2 separate regions of the Homo sapiens genome follow, and region 2 is linked to region 1. Evidence: promoter capture Hi-C in human tissues and cell types (Jung and others, 2019). All regions are on one chromosome and are shown on one strand. The core of a region is centred on a gene start or on the middle of the fragment in contact, and the rest is flanking DNA. Distances in the headings are between cores, read along the strand shown. Region 1 holds the start of ZZEF1 (zinc finger ZZ-type and EF-hand domain containing 1). Region 2 holds the start of SCIMP (SLP adaptor and CSK interacting membrane protein).

Region 1 (5,382 bases), core at 1,948-4,447:
CTCAATAATTAAGCCCTGAGTTTTAGCTGAATATATGGCCACGGAAAAAGAATCTTTCCCAGCCTGTCCTGCAGGTAACTGCGGCCATGTGACTGAATTTTGGCCTGTGGGATGTAAGCTATGCCCGTAAGAGAGTGGGCATGGCTTCTTCCTTCTCCTTCCCTTTTCCCTTTCTTGCTTGTTGGAATGTGGAAAATGACAGCAGGAGTCAACAGAATTACTAAGTGGAAGATGTCCGTGGAGGATGACAGCACAAGATGGACGAAGCCAGGTCCCTGATGATGACAACACTGCCACATCAATCTTGGACTGCCTACCTGGACATTTTCATAAGGAAGCAGCTTCTTTTTATGTTTAAACCACTGATGCATTAGGTTTTCTGTCCCTTGAAAAAGTTTTGTGTATCCCTAATACACCACACCAGACTTCTTCCAGATTCTCTGGACTTTGAACTTTTGTGGATACAATTTCCTCTGCCTGAAACGCTGTTACTACCTCCTGTAACACTATCTGCTTTCACCATTCACCTGTGGGCTGAAATGTTACCTTCTCAGGTAAGTCTTGCTTGAGCCCCAAGTGAGGTTAAATACACTTGCTATTTATTCCTTATACCTTCCCCCTCGGTTAACACTCACCATATCTTATAATTAATGGGTTAATACCTGTCTCTTCCACCACAACTACATACTCTTTAAGAGCAAGTATCTGCTTTGTCCACTGTCATCCAAGTGAGTGGCACTCGATATACGCCCAATAAACATTTGCTCAGTGAACAATAATGCCACAACCCCTGAGTGATTTCTGGACCACACCTCAAGTATTTCTTGACCTTCTATTAAGGGACTCCTATGAACTCTACATAAAGTTCTATTTCTGTCAGAAACTCTCAGAATGTAAACGGTGTTTCTCTCCATTTGCCTTTGCTCAAATCTGCAAAGTGCCATCTCCTTCAACAGTTCTGCATGGTTCTTCCCACTACTACTTCATATTCTCATAATACGCGTAGATACTAGAAAGAAGGTACTATGTGTATTCCTGGGGGGAAAAAAAAAGGAGATCTTTCACTAACTAATATGACTTTTTTTTTTTTTTTTGAGACAGAGTATCGCTCTGAGGCCCAGGCTGGAATGCAGTGGCGTGATCTCAGCTCACTGCAACCTCCGCCTCCTGGGTTCAAGCGGTTGTCCCACCTCAGCCTCCCAAGTAGCTGGGATTACAGGCACCCGCCACCATGCCCAGCTAATTTTTGTATTTTTAGTAGAGGTGGGGTTTCACCACGTTGGCCAGGCTGGTCTTGAATTCCTGACCTCAGATGATCCTCCCGCCTCAGCCTCCCAAAGTGCTGGGATTACAGGCGTGAGCCACTGCGCCCAGCCATGACTATTATTTTTAAGGGTTGGGATGCCTTAAAGGTACTTTTTTCATAAGAAACACACAAACTACATTATCTGAATTCTGGCCATGTACAGGAAGACATTCTTAAAATATTTTAAAAGCCTCTGATTTTAAGGTGAACAGAACCTTTTAAAGGCACTGCAAGTACCCGCTGGTTTACTGCTTTATGTACACACCCTTCGTGGCCACTGAAGATTCTACATGACTGGCTAACTCATTTTCACAAAATAAGTACCTTTTTGGTCATACCGTGGTGTTAAAAGAAATAGGATCCCAGGAAGGAGGTAGTGAGACATTAAAAACAAAAAATAGGGTGCGGGTGGAGGGAGAGAGAGCATCAGGAAGAATACCTAATGGATGCTGGGCTTAATACCTGGGTGATGGGATGCTGTGTGGAGTAAACCACCATGGCACACGTTTACCTATGTAATACATCTGCAAATCCAAATCCTGCACATGTACGCCTGAATTTAAAATAAAAGTTGAAAGAAAGAAAAAAAAAAAAAGCAAGAGATCTAGTTGATAGTCTGTTTTACTAATGATTCACTGGGTAACCCTGGATCAGTCTTCTTAACTCGAAGTGAAGCGCCCAGTAAATAAACTCCCAAAATGCCTTCCAAGGAAAATATTTTGTTGCCAAATCAATTTGCTCTCTTAATGACTTAGCAGACATGATCTTGGTGATTATATGAAGAACTGCATAATTACAAGTATTCACAGGAAACCTGGTATTTGCCTATCAGTTTCGGATCCTATGAAGGTTTAAATGAGTCTAATATATGGTTCTTTAAGGATCTACAAACCAGTATGTATTTTAGAAAAGCTAGTTTTTGCATGAGGAGGATAGGTTTTAGAATGTGAGCCTTTCCAGCATGTTACTACTGTCTTTCCACACTTATTCGGCGCCCACACTGAATTGGGAAGGTGCTGTGTAAAAACCTGGACAGGACAATACAAAAAATGGTTCTCAGCGCCACTCCTCCTATCCTTACATCTCTTTTCTCTCCAAACTGTTCGAGAATCTGATAGAAGATCTCCAGAGTAGCGTCAATCAACTGCACAAAGGTCTGCATTACAACATACAGAGAGAGACATATGGGCTTGTCCAGCTCTTCAGAGCAAGGACGGCCTGATGCAGACTTTCCAGACCTCTAACATAGGTTAAAGAGAAACGAAGCAAACGCCTGGTGAAAAGCTGGAAACACCTCATATGGGTCCCCGCCTGGCCTCTCCAAAGCAAATGCCCACCTCTTCCTTCAGTCCCCTGGGGGCGACCGCCCTGCCCCATCCCCGCAGTCGCCTGCCGGCCCTGACCTCCTCGAACTGCTCGCTAGAGCAGCCGGCGCCGCGAGCCTCCAGCAGCTCCCGGAACTGCTCCAGAGTGACAGACTCTTCGCCGCGGCCCAGCCGCTCTTCCAGCCAGCGAAACAACGCGCCGCGATGCCTCGACACCAGCGACTCGCAGGGGGGTGTGGGCAGCAACGCTGCAGCAGCCTCTCGCAGCCTGGCCGGCTCCAGCAGCGCCGCGGCGGGTGGTAGCGCTGGAGCCGCGACGCCCGGGCCGGGGGTCGTGCCCGAGACCGCGGCCCAGTCCTGGTGTGGGCCCCAGCCCTCGCCACCGGCAGCTGCCGCTTCGTCTTCACTGCTGTGACTCGGAGCGTTCCCCATGGGGTCTCCGTCTTGGGCGCCTGGCTCTGCAGCCGCCGCCGCCGCCTCCCCGCCTCGACCTGTCAACCTCCGACAGCAGCTGGCGGGCGGGGACGCGGAGGAGACGACGGCGGCCCCTGCGGCTTCCGGCTTCCTGGCCGTCAAGCGACGACCGCTGTCGCAAAGGCGCCGTCACGTAGATAGGCGGCCTCTACCAACTCACGACAGCTAGGCGGGGAGCGCCGCCTCAAAGGGTGCAACCTTGATTTCCCAGAGGACGAGTCTGTCTCAGTATCTACGTCATTCCGTAGCCTCCGCTGCCGCCATCTTTGTTGGGGCTGACAACCTGCAAGCCAAGAAGTACGAGAAGGGCCAGGCGCGGTGGCTCACGCCTGTAATCCCAGCACTTTGGGAGGCCGAGACGGGTGGATCACCTGAGGTCAGGAGTTCGAGACCAGCCTGACCAACGTGGTGAAACCCTGTCTCTACTAAATACAAAATATTAGCCGGACGTGGGGGCGCGTGCCTGTAATCCCAGCTACTTGGGAGGCTGAGGCAGGAGAATCGCTTGAACCCGGGAGGCGGAGGTTGCAGTGAGCCGAGATTCCGCCAGTGCACTCCAGCCTGGACAACAAGAGCTAAAACTCTGTCTCAGAAAAAAAAAAAAAAAGTACCTGGAAAAAGTCGCAGACAGCGAGCTTTTCGCCAGTGCCAGGAATACAGATAAAACGAGAGAGACTAAGGGAGGGAGCGCGAGCACTAGCGCGCGAGAGAGAGAGCGAGAGCGCGCGCGCCGATGACGTCACGCTCGGCGTCTCGGCCATCTTAGCTGTAGATAGAGGCGGCAACCTCGGAAGTGCGGAGCGGGTGGGCCTATATAGATGTTGAGGTGCGGAGGCCGTGGGCTTTTGTTGGGCCTGGCTGTAGCCGCAGCAGCGGTAATGGCAGCACGGCTTATGGGCTGGTGGGGTCCCCGCGCTGGCTTTCGCCTTTTCATACCGGAGGAGCTGTCTCGCTACCGCGGCGGCCCAGGGGACCCGGGCCTGTACTTGGCGTTGCTCGGCCGTGTCTACGATGTGTCCTCCGGCCGGAGGCACTACGAGCCTGGGTCCCACTATAGCGGCTTCGCAGGTATCAGCGAGGCTGCTCACGCCTTTCTCTCCGCTGGCGCGAGCCAGTAGCCACCTGCGCGTCGTTCGTTGGTTCATTATTCATCTATTTCCCCCCCCATCCCCACCCCACATCCATCAAACCCGTGCGGTGGGCGGGACGAGCTGCATGCACTATCCTTCTAGGCTCTCTGGCTCTGGCGGGACTGTGGGCCAGCTCTGTCATCCACCACCGCCCTGCGTGACTTACATTGGAGAAACATGTCTTCTGTCTCTTGTTACCCATTACCCAGCGTCGGAAGCCCTAGGATACGGGCTGTGTGCCGGACTTTTGTGGGGGCTCTTAGGGCACAGATAAACGAGATCCCGCCCCGCCCCTACCCTCACAGTTTCCTTAATAATTCCAACCATCTCTTCATTATGCCCTGGTCCCAAATAATCTTTCTTCCCCCCACCCCTAAGCATAGTGTTTTCAAGGTTCATCCATGGTTTATGAGCATGCATCAATACTTTATTCCTTTATGGCCCGTCATATAGTACATTTGGTCTGAGTCATTCCTGCTTCTAGTACAAGATGCACCTGTTTGCCTTCCTTAGAAGGTTAGGGCAGAGGAAAGGGGTCCAGTCACCTTTACAGTCCTTGATACGTAGACCAAAGTTGTGCATATGTTAGGCCTCAAGAAACATTTGTCAAATTAAGTTTATGCTGGTGTCCCTGTGTTACAGCTGAGGGGGTTAAAGGATGCGATTTGCCTGAAACCCTCACACCTGAATACTGACAGAATATGGACTCGGACCACCAGTCTAGTGCTTTTTTTTTAAAGATGGAATCTCGCTGTGTCGCCCAGGCTGGAGTGCAGTGGCCTGATCTCGGCTCACTGCAAGCTCTGCCTCCCGGGTTCACGCCATTCTCCTGTCTCAGCCTCCCGAATAGCTGGGACTACAGGCGCCCACCACCACGCCCGGCTAATTTGTTGAATTTTTAGTAGAGACGGGGTTTCACCATGTTAGCCAGGATGGTCTCGATCTCCTGACCTTATGATCCGCCCACCTTGGCCTCCCAAAGTGCTGGGATTACAGGCGTGAGCCACCACACCCGGCCAGCCTAGTGCTTTTTTACAGATGTTGCCTTGCCAGCCAGCGGGACTGACCTCCAAAATTTAAAAAGAAAAAAAAAGTGCAGGGCAAGCCTAAGATCAGCTACTAGGCTGACATTAAATAAGCATTTTCC
Region 2 (5,382 bases), core at 845-3,344, 1.1 Mb after region 1:
ACTGGTGCAATCTCAGCTCACTGCAACCTCTACTTCCTGGTTCAAGCTATTCTCCTGTGTCAGCCTCCTGAGTAGCTGGGATTACCGACACGCACCACCATACCCGGCTAATTTTTGTGTATTTTTAGTAGAGATGGGGTTTTGCCATGTTGGCCTGGCTGGTCTCAAACTCCTGACCTCAAGTGATCCACCTGCCTCGGCCTCCCAAAGTGCTGGGATTACAGGCGTGAGCCACTGAGCCTCGCTCCACTTGTCCTTCTCACTGATGTCAGCACCAGAAATGGCCATGTGGATAGTCACTGGCAACTTAAAACCCAAGTGTGCATGGGGAAGTGCACGGCAGGGTCATTAAAAGGAGTCCAGCCTCTCTTCTTCCCTTCTCTATACTTTCACTTCTGGAAAAGACCGGAAACCTTGCCTCATTCCTCTTTCTCCCATGGCCCCATCCCCACCCCGCTTCAGCCCATCAGCCTCCAAATGTAGTCCAAGTCCTCATCTCTGTACCTGGACCATTGCATTTTCGCTGGCCCCTAGCCCCCACTGGGCTCCCCACTGGCTGCCAAATACCAGTGTGACCCTGTCCCTTCCTTGCTTTAAGCCTCTCAGTAGTTTGTTTGTTTGTTTTTGAGATGGAGTCTTGCTCTGTCACCAGGCTGGAGTGCAGTGACATAATCTTGGCTCACTGCAACCTCCACCTCCCGGGCTCAAACGATTCTCCTGCCTCAGCTTCCCGAGTAGCTGGGGCTATAGGCGCCCACCACCATGCCCAGCTAATTTTTGTATTTGTAGTAGAGACAGGGTTTCACCATGTTGGCCAGGCTGGTCTTGATCTCTTGACCTTGTGATCTGCCCACCTTGGCCTCCCAAAGTGCTGGGATTAGAGGCGTGAGCCACCATGCCCCGCCTGCCTCTCAGTAGTTATTTACCACTGAAGCAGAGTGAAGCCTGTGCTCCACATTGCTTCATGGCCAAGACCTCAGGGACAAGTGGACACACCAGGCAGTGGGAGTGGATATGGCAAAGCCAAACCCAGATCTCTTCTCAAAATAATTTTCCAGAGGGCAAAAGCAGATGGCTACACCGAGAACTCACGCCAGCCCAACACACTTTGATCTCGAGGCCTCTGGAAGGGAAGGTGCCTAATGAACTACTGAAAGCCAGAGATGCAATGACAAAGGTACCAAGACTGGAGGTGATCCAGGTCTTTCATCCAAGAGCCCCAAGACGTAGCCTAAATTCATGCTACGGTAATCCCAGCACTTTGGGAGGCCGAGGCGGGCGGATCACCTGAGGTCAGGAGTTCGAGAGCAGCCTGGCCAACATGGTGAAACTCCGTCTCTACTAAAAATACAGAAATTAGCCAGGTGTGGTGGCGGGTGCCTGTAATCCCAGCTACTCAGGAGGCTGAGGCAGGAGAATCGCTTGAACCCGGGAGGCGGTGGTTGCAGTGAGCCGAGATCACGTCACTGCACTCCAGCCTGGGCGACAAGAGCGAAACTCCATCTCAAAATAAAATAAAAATAAATAAATTGACACAGTCAGTGCCTCGCTCCCACCCCCACCTCCAGCATAGCACCATGACAGTCTTCTCACATAACAAGTCCCAAAACACACCATCGGCATCCAGAAAGTGAGAGTAACTCGTTACAGTTGAGACCTCTCACTCCCGGTCATTATCTCATTTCAATCCAAGAGGTAGACTTCTTCATCGCCCCTGACATACACATGAGGAAAAGGCCCAGAGAGGTGAAGTGATGCCTCAGGTCACTCAGCCAGTTACCAGTAGAGCAGATCCTTCAATGCAAGTTTTTCTCCAACCCTACACAGCAGTCGTACCAGGGCCCCAGGCTGCAATCCCCTGGCCCAGTGCTGATCGGTGGCTCCCAGGGACACGCCCTGATGCCAGCGCTGGCAGATGTCTGCTGTGAAGAGAGCAGGAAACTGTCCCTTGGAAAGCTGAGATGCTTACCTGAACTGTGAAAGTATCCATATGTGAGCAGCTAAGGAGACAGCAGTGGCTGGAGTGCTGCAGCTCAGGCACAGCTGGTGAGAGGCATTCCTCACTCACAGGCCTTCACCCACTGCTAGAGACAGTGAGCCCCATCCTGACCACTTCCCCTTTCTAGTCAGCCCACGGGGCAGAGACCCTGGCGTCATCTCTAGGCAACCATCCCTTTTCCAGGGAAGCTCATGACCCACGGCTGTCCAGAAGCCAGAATCTTCTCACTGCCCCGTGTCGCTCCCGCAAGGCCTACCAGAGGACCCTCATGGTGTGGTAGGGGGTCCTGGCAGGGGCCAGGGGCCAGGGTGGAGACTTGGCAGTGGGGGTGGGTTTGGTGTCCCCACAGACGAGTTTGCCGTGAGCATTCCTGGATGTGGCAACCTCAGTCTCAAGAAGAGCGACAGGACGCCAGCTCCCATGCAGAGACAGATCCAGGTAAGAAACCAGCTCATGTGTGACAAACTCACCATCTCACCATGAAGGTGACTCTTGAAAGCTCCTGTGCACCTTGGAACTGCTGAGACATCTTCTGCTTGGAGGAGGCAAGGGACAGGCTTCCTGTTTCTAAAGGCGTGTGAGTGGCGACCTTGAGAAATGTGGCCAGTGGAGCATTTTGACTGAGTTGGGTCCCCTCGTGCAATACTGTGAGACAGAACTCCCAGCGAGGCCCACGGCCTCTGACCATGGGGGTTGGAGTGGGGAAACCAATTAGCCATTTTGTTGAATTGGCTGGTTCTGACTCAAATGAGCAGTCACATTAGTAAAAATAGGCAAACGGATGTGCATTGTATTTGCCCAGAGCGAATGAGTTGTTATCCATTTCAGTAATAATGATAACCAGATATGTCTGATAAATATCTGATAATGTCTGATATATGTCTGGTAAATTTAACAAACACCGGGCTCTGGCTGGGTGCGGTGGCTCACACCTGTAATCCCAGCACTTTGGGAGGCCAAGGCGGGTGGATCACCTGAAGTCAGTAGTTCGAGACCAGCCTGGCCAACATGGTGAAACCCCATCTCTACTAAAAATACAAAAATTAGCTGGGCATTTTGGTGTGAACCGGTAGTCCCAGCTACTCAGGAGGCTGAGGCGGGAGAATTGCTTGGACCCGCGAGGTGGAGGTTGCAGTGAGCCAAGATCACACCATTGCGCTCCAGCCTGGGCAACAGAGCAAGACTCTATCTCAAACAAACAAAACAAAACATCTGGCTCAGAAGATTCCTGATTTGCAGTGTTTACTAATTTCTTTTTTCTTTTTCTTTCTTTCTTTCTTTTTTTTTTTTTTTTTTGAGATGCAGTCTCACTCTGTCGCCAGGCTGGAGTGCAGTGGCTCAATCTCAGCACACTGCAACCTCCGACTCCCAGGTTCAAGCAATTCTCCTGCCTCAGCCTCCCAAGTAGCTGGGACTACAGGTGTGTGCCACCGCATCCGGCTAATCTTTGTATTTTTAGTAGAGACAGGGTTTCACCATGTTGGCCAGGCTGGTCTCGAACTCCTGACCTCAAGTGATCCACCTGCCTCGGCCTCCCAAAGTGCTGGGATTACAGAGTTGAGCCACTGCACCTGGCCAAGGCCTGAACTCTTTCTTCTTAGGCTCATCCAAAGTTTAGCTGCTAAAAAACCTTCCTAAAAGCCAATTTAAAATTTTCTTCTAGGCCGGGCACAGTGGCTCACGCCTGAAATCCCAGCACTTTGGGAGGCCAAGGCAGGCGGATCATGAGGTCAGGCGTTTGAGACCAGCCTGGCCAACATGGTGAAATCCCGTCTCTACTAAAAATACAAAAATTAGCCAGGCATGGTGGCAGGTGCCTGTAGTCCCAGCTACTTGGGAGGCTGAGGCAGAAGAATCGCTTGAACCTGGGAGGCGGAGGTTGCAGTGAGCCGAGATCGAGCCACTGCACTCCAGCCGGGGTGACAGAGCAACACTCCGTCTCAAAAAAAAAAAAAAAAAAAATTCTCTTCTGAGGGGTGAATAAATGCTTCTGTGGATAGAGCTCATCCTAGGCTAACAAAGCTGTGACTTCTTGGTTTGTGTTTCATTCATTCATTCAATAAATTACTCAATAAATTATTTTGCTAACCTTTAAGGACCTCAGTTCAGCTGTGATATAGTAAACTCTGTAGCCCTACTATTTCTAACAATGCCTTTTGCACAGCAAGTTCAAGCCTGAGGTGTCAGGTGATCAGAATTCCAGGCCCGGTTTGACAAAACTTTCTTTGTGAATCCTTCCCTTCTCTGAGCCTCAGTTTCCTTGTTGTAAAATGAAAGAATTCAATTGACAAATATGAAAGTGCTCCAGGGATTTTGCCATCTGCCTTCAAGAAAGTCCCGCAAAGTGTAGGAGGAAGTTGAAGCCATAATATGATGCAGGCTAAATACAATGACCTTCAATTTGTGCCAGACCCTGTGCTCAACAAGTAGAGACTCAGAACTGGGCAAGTCATTCATGGGTAGAGCACATGGCACATGTTCTACAGGACAGAAGGCACATAAGTTATTACTATGCAAAGTGATGAATGCTAGTGCTGTGGAAGCACAAAAGTGGGAGAGAAGAAAGGGTCTGAGTGGTAGCATTTGAACTGGGCCTTGAAGGATGTGTAGGAGCTCACCAAATGGACAGAATGTGGACAGACACAAAGCAGCCATAGTATTTGGAGAGAAAGAGATGGTTGCATGGCTGATCAAGAGTGAATGTGTTGGGCAGTCAGAGGCTTGAGAGCAAAGTTTAGGGACACACACCACGGCATCTGGATCTACCCACTTCCTTGCTATCTACATTCTTCCCCGACTCCACCATTTGTCTTTCCACCACAAGAGGAGGGCAGGAAGTTGGGGCGGTTGTGTTCTTTCTGCACATCTGAAATGCCACCTGCTGGTCTGGGCAACTAAAGAGGTCCCTGAGGGCCCTAGATTAGCGGCTGGACCAGAGGGTGTCAAGGAGAATGAAGGGCACCCTCTAGTGGTCACCTGTGGTGCTTTCTCCTCAGGATTCTGGTCCCTCTGACCTCCCCGTAGGGATGGCTGGACACACAAGATGTTCACCTCTTAAAGCTACAGAGACCATCAGGCTAGAGGACACTCAGAAGGGATTCCAGTCCACCCTTCATCTCATGACTCAACCTTTTTGTCAACATCCGGGTGGCACCCAGCTTCTGCCGTTTTGTTTCTTCTCACTCAGTCATCTAAGTCATGTGTAAAATGAGGTGTTATTCTTTGTGCCACTCACAAGTGTCAATTAATCCCCATCATGAGAAAAAAACTGAAGAAAGAGAAATCATAAGATACAACATATAATTAGAACATTAATAGATTTTATTGCAGTTTTTAAAAAGGTGGGGGTTTTTGTTTGTTTTTGTTTTTGTTTTTGAGACAGA

Evidence for each region. The method cuts DNA at HindIII sites, captures the fragments that hold promoters and counts their contacts. A contact is called where the count stands out against the background at its distance.
Region 2: a contact is called between the fragment with the promoter of SCIMP here and the fragment with the promoter of ZZEF1 in region 1, in 1 of the 25 tissues and cell types used here (small bowel).

Annotation. Positions count from the first base shown.
Region 1 is chr17:4,139,833-4,145,214 of GRCh38, forward strand. ZZEF1 (zinc finger ZZ-type and EF-hand domain containing 1) reads right to left here and starts at 3,198. Exons shown (of 55, transcript NM_015113.4): 1 at 2,710-3,198. The coding sequence starts at 3,063. CYB5D2 (cytochrome b5 domain containing 2) reads left to right here and starts at 3,365. Exons shown (of 4, transcript NM_144611.4): 1 at 3,365-4,173. The coding sequence starts at 3,924. RefSeq lists a silencer at 2,924-3,093 and enhancers at 2,959-3,510, 3,174-3,483, 3,511-4,063, 3,634-4,213. The HindIII fragment of the contact is 20,801 bases long and covers 1-5,382 here.
Region 2 is chr17:5,232,766-5,238,147 of GRCh38, forward strand. SCIMP (SLP adaptor and CSK interacting membrane protein) reads right to left here and starts at 2,095. Exons shown (of 5, transcript NM_207103.3): 1 at 1,970-2,095. The coding sequence starts at 1,990. It overlaps ZNF594-DT (ZNF594 divergent transcript), which reads left to right. Exons shown (of 6, transcript NR_152840.1): 6 at 2,349-3,238. RefSeq lists enhancers at 2,337-2,536, 4,482-4,781. The HindIII fragment of the contact is 19,973 bases long and covers 1-5,382 here.